Regions from separate parts of the Homo sapiens genome. Here region 2 is linked to region 1. Evidence: promoter capture Hi-C in human tissues and cell types (Jung and others, 2019). All regions are on one chromosome and are shown on one strand. Each heading gives the region's core, a stretch centred on a gene start or on the middle of the fragment in contact. The rest is flanking DNA. Distances are from core to core; before and after follow the strand shown.

Region 1 (2,869 bases), core at 370-2,869:
GTAAGTCTTTTGCCTTGGAAGTGGCTAAGGCTCAGCTCCTGCTTTTGTTCCATCTCACTATTACCCAACGTCAGGTGGCTTCCCCAACTCTTCAAGGTTGTGGAAAGGGTGCGTATTTTTTAAAAAAAATCTTACGTCGTGCATCTTCCTTCCTTCCTAGAGGTCCTGGAGAGGTGATGAGCTGGGGCAAAGTGAGCGTCTACGGAACTTTCCCCACAGTATCCTCCAGTGACTGAGTCTTTCTCTAGAGACCCCCCTCCTCTAGCTCAACTTCCTGACCCCCTGTGGTCTTACAGAAACCTCTTGGTCCATGGAGGATAGTAAAAACCTGAGAACTGAAATGTATCCATGTTCTCACCACGTAGTAATTCTTACACTTGTTCTTCCATCTATGGATTCCCCTTTTCACTCACCTCCTACATCATCCATCCACTTACTCACTCAACAGCCATTCACCTGGCTGGGCGTGGTGGCTCATGCCTGTAATTTCAGCACTTTGGGAGGCCGAGGTGGGTGGATCATCTGAGGTCAGGAGTTTGAGACTAGCCTGGTCAATCCCCATCTCTACTAAAAATACAAAAAAATTAGCCTGCAATCCCAGCTACTAGGGAGGCTGAGGCGGGAGAATCGCTTGAACCCAGGAGGCAGAAGTTGCAGTGAGCCTAGACCAGCCTGGGCAACAAGAGTGAAACTCTGTCTCAACAAACAAACAAACAAACAAAACAGCCATTCACCTACGACATGCCAGGTACTGTATTATGTTCGTGTTTGGAGAAGAAGAAAAGCAAACAATCAACTGTAGCATAATTCACTTTATTACCTTGGGCAAAACATTGACCTTGTTGGGCCTTTGTTTCCTACAGATTTAATGACTTGTTTAGAGATAATTTTGTCCTGGGTTTCTTCCATCCTGTGACTGCCCTCAACCTTCTAAAGCATCCTGTGCCTTCCGCAAACTGCAAACTGCAGTCTACACTAGTGTAGGGGTATTTCTCTAGAAACCACAAAAGTTCTCAGAGGGAGGGTCAAAGCCAAGGGGTAGAGAAAGATGAAGCGAGAGGCAAAGTGGGAGAAGACCCTCCTGTGACACCTGGTCTGGGTGGGGGCTGGGGGTGCAGGAAGGGAGCCGAGGGGGCCAGACCTGCCTGCCAGGAGGACCTGCCAGATGCCCTGCCCATCCTGCGAAATCTTACACCCTCCTTGCTCCCTACCAGCCCTGGCTCCAGCTCAAGCTGGATTGCAATCTGCATAATGTGTCCCATTTAGATTGGATGGAAGGGGGTGAGAACAGGAGGGCGGAGAGCACTGAGGAGGGAGTGCCCTAAAGGGCAGGCAGGAAGTGGTGGCCAGAGGAAAGTGGAGGGATAGGGGCTGGGGTGAAGGTGGGTGGCAGCCAGAAAGGAGAGGCGGGGCCAGGAAAGCCGACTTGCAAAACCACAGATAATGTTCAGCCCAGCACAGTAGGGGTCAATTTGGTCCACTTGCTCAGTGACAAAAAGAAAAAAAAAGTGGGCTGTCACTAAAGATTTTGACTCACAAGAGAGGGGCTGGTCTGGAGGTGGGAGGAGGGAGTGACGAGTCAAGGAGGAGACAGGGACGCAGGAGGGTGCAAGGAAGTGTCTTAACTGAGACGGGGGTAAGGCAAGAGAGGGTGGAGGAAATTCTGCAGGAGACAGGCTTCCTCCAGGGTCTGGAGAACCCAGAGGCAGCTCCTCCTGAGTGCTGGGAAGGACTCTGGGCATCTTCAGCCCTTCTTACTCTCTGAGGCTCAAGCCAGAAATTCAGGCTGCTTGCAGAGTGGGTGACAGAGCCACGGAGCTGGTGTCCCTGGGACCCTCTGCCCGTCTTCTCTCCACTCCCCAGCATGGAGGAAGGTGGTGATTTTGACAACTACTATGGGGCAGACAACCAGTCTGAGTGTGAGTACACAGACTGGAAATCCTCGGGGGCCCTCATCCCTGCCATCTACATGTTGGTCTTCCTCCTGGGCACCACGGGCAACGGTCTGGTGCTCTGGACCGTGTTTCGGAGCAGCCGGGAGAAGAGGCGCTCAGCTGATATCTTCATTGCTAGCCTGGCGGTGGCTGACCTGACCTTCGTGGTGACGCTGCCCCTGTGGGCTACCTACACGTACCGGGACTATGACTGGCCCTTTGGGACCTTCTTCTGCAAGCTCAGCAGCTACCTCATCTTCGTCAACATGTACGCCAGCGTCTTCTGCCTCACCGGCCTCAGCTTCGACCGCTACCTGGCCATCGTGAGGCCAGTGGCCAATGCTCGGCTGAGGCTGCGGGTCAGCGGGGCCGTGGCCACGGCAGTTCTTTGGGTGCTGGCCGCCCTCCTGGCCATGCCTGTCATGGTGTTACGCACCACCGGGGACTTGGAGAACACCACTAAGGTGCAGTGCTACATGGACTACTCCATGGTGGCCACTGTGAGCTCAGAGTGGGCCTGGGAGGTGGGCCTTGGGGTCTCGTCCACCACCGTGGGCTTTGTGGTGCCCTTCACCATCATGCTGACCTGTTACTTCTTCATCGCCCAAACCATCGCTGGCCACTTCCGCAAGGAACGCATCGAGGGCCTGCGGAAGCGGCGCCGGCTGCTCAGCATCATCGTGGTGCTGGTGGTGACCTTTGCCCTGTGCTGGATGCCCTACCACCTGGTGAAGACGCTGTACATGCTGGGCAGCCTGCTGCACTGGCCCTGTGACTTTGACCTCTTCCTCATGAACATCTTCCCCTACTGCACCTGCATCAGCTACGTCAACAGCTGCCTCAACCCCTTCCTCTATGCCTTTTTCGACCCCCGCTTCCGCCAGGCCTGCACCTCCATGCTCTGCTGTGGCCAGAGCAGGTGCGCAGGCACCTCC
Region 2 (2,700 bases), core at 101-2,600, 300 kb after region 1:
GTCTTATGTTTCCTGCTAGGTCTCGGTTAATCCTTTTTTATCACTACTGGTCCTGCTTTCTTATCTCTCTTCTGCAGTGAAAACAGCTTTAAGATTCTCTGTCAAATCAAGTCTCTTTCTCTACTATTTTCCTCAGTTAACTCTTCGGGGAGTATGCTCAAGTTGGTATCTTTTGTCCTTATTTTCCTTTTAAGATCCTCAGGGATCTAGAACTAGAAATACCATTTGACCCAGCCATCCCATTACTGGGTATATACTCAAAGGACTATAAATCATGCTGCTATAAAGACACATGCACACGTATGTTTATTGTGGCACTATTCACAATAGCAAAGACTTGGAACCAACCCAAATGTCCAACAATGATAGACTGGATTAAGAAATTGTGGCACATATACACCATGGTATACTATGCAGCCATAAAAAATGATTAGTTCATGTCCTTTATAGGGACATGGATGAAATTGGAAATCATCGTTCTCAGTAAACTATCGCAAGGACAAAAAACCAAACACCGCATGTTCTCACTCATAGGTGGGAATTGAACAATGAGAACACATGGACACAGGAAGGGGAACATCACACTCTGGGGACTGTTGTGGGGTGGGGGGAGTGGGGAGGGATAGCATTAGGAGATATATCTAATGCTAAATGAAGAGTTAATGGGTGCAGCACACCAGCATGGCACATGTATACATATGTAACTAACCTGCACATTGTGCACATGTACCCTAAAACCTAAAGTATAAAAAAAAAAAATCCAGAAGGACATTTTTTCCAATTATCTGCTAGACATCTTCATTTAGGTTTTCTTTTCATACCATAAACTCAAGGTGCTTAAAAGCAGCCCTTCGCTTTTGCTTCACATTCTAGTTTTCTTCATCCTCTACTTTGCTGCCACCTACAATCCAAACTTTGGGGTGTCTTTGGGTTCCCCTGAATGTTTAATTACTTACCATATTCTATGGATCCAGTATCCACAATGTGTCTCTGTGTATTCCCTTACATTGCATATTTTTATTATCAGCCAAACTCATTATCTCTCACCCAGGTTTCACAATAGGAACTTCATTGATCTCTCCACCTCCACGCTATTCACTCTTCCAGTCTTTCCTTTGTGTGGTTTTAAGTTAGGTTTTTCCAGAGCTCAATTCCAATTAAACTACTCCTTAGCTCACAGGCCTTTGCACTTGCCTCTCATGATCTTGCCCATCAGGATCTCATGTCAGGTTTCTTTGCATTCTTCTCTATGGACCCATCTGGTCTACTAAACCAAGCACAAACTTTTCAGCTAGAATTTTAGATTTTTTTTCCCAATACGAGCTCAGTTTAACTTTCTAGGCTTATCTATCATTGCTCTAATTAACTAACAAACTAATCATTACTAAAATATTTATTGAACATCCACTCTATGTCTCTATGCCAAACAGTGGACCCCAGTCCATTGTTAGGATAAAATGCTAAGGATTTGATTGCTAGGGATACATTGCTAGGGATGAAATGGTGAATAACAGCATACAGAATCACTGCTCTCATGGAGTTTTCAGTCTTGTGAGTGGCACAGGCAGAGATCATTTGTATCAGTGAGGTGCACAGGGCACAAAAGCTTATAAAGGGAATATTAACCTGGTAATTTAAATCTGGGATGAGTGTCCAGAGAAAACTATGCTTATATAAGTAATAGGAAATTATTTCGAATGCTGTCAAAAAGCCAAGGCCAACCATACTTATGGAGGAATGAAATTTAAGTGATAGTGAGGAAACCACCTTGCAAACAGTTCTACAGTCACATAGGCCTCCTACTCTGCTGTCCGAACAGAAATTTGCTCCTGCCTCAGGGCCTTTGCACTTGCCTTTGATGATTCTGCTTCTCAGGATGTCATGGCAGGCTCCTTCAATATTCTCAGATTCCCTTCTGCCTGACCCCCTGAACTAATCTAGTCCCCTGCTTATCATTCTCTCTCACCTCATCCTATTTATTTTCTTTAAATGTAATCATCTTGTTTTTTCTTCCATTTACTTGTTTATTGACTGCCTTCTGCACTAGAATATAAACTCCTAGAGGTAGGGCTTCTGACTCTTCATTCACATCACCTAGGTCAATGCCTGATAAATGGTAAGTGCTCAATTAATGTTGCAAATGAAAGAGAATAATAAAGATATATATGAAGGATCATGAAGTTATATATATATATCTCATATATCTCTCTGTTATATCTATATATCTATATATATTTTTATATATAGACATCTATTTTTCTATTTATATATCTCTAGATAGATACATAGATATTTCTCTCTAGATATGTCTCTGATATGAGAGATAAGTATATATGAGAATATATATAGATATCTACATATATCTATATATGATAGCTCTCTATATATGAGAAGGTCTATTCTGTGGGGAGTTAATAATTGATTTTTCAGAAATGATAACTACATTATGTTTTCTTAGAGATGCGGCTGCTACACAATTTTTGCCACTTTGTTTTTCAACTTCTATTTTAGATTCTGGGGTACATGTACAGTTTGTTATAAAGATATATTGCGTGATTCTGTGGTTGCTGGGTGGAATATTCCGTAGATGGTTATGAGGTCCAGTTGGTCAAGTGTCAAGCTTAAGTCTAGAATTTTCCTGTTAGTGTTCTGAATTTGTATCAATTCTTTATTGAAGAGGAAAAAGATACTTTGTTGTCT

What was found. Contacts are between HindIII fragments. The study calls those that stand out against the background at their distance.
Region 2: a contact is called between a fragment that was not itself captured here and the fragment with the promoter of APLNR in region 1, in 1 of the 25 tissues and cell types used here (H1 embryonic stem cells).

Annotation. Positions count from the first base shown.
Region 1 is chr11:57,236,000-57,238,868 of GRCh38, reverse strand. It overlaps APLNR (apelin receptor), which reads left to right and starts at 1,619. Exons shown (of 1, transcript NM_005161.6): 1 at 1,619-2,869. The coding sequence starts at 1,865. RefSeq lists an enhancer at 1,345-1,977. The HindIII fragment of the contact is 13,017 bases long and covers 1-2,869 here.
Region 2 is chr11:56,933,624-56,936,323 of GRCh38, reverse strand. All of the region lies in intron 1 of LOC105369310 (a long non-coding RNA gene), which reads left to right. Among named protein-coding and RNA genes, the nearest start is that of OR5AK2, 54 kb to the left of the region's middle. RefSeq lists an enhancer at 2,602-2,700. The HindIII fragment of the contact is 3,677 bases long and covers 1-2,700 here.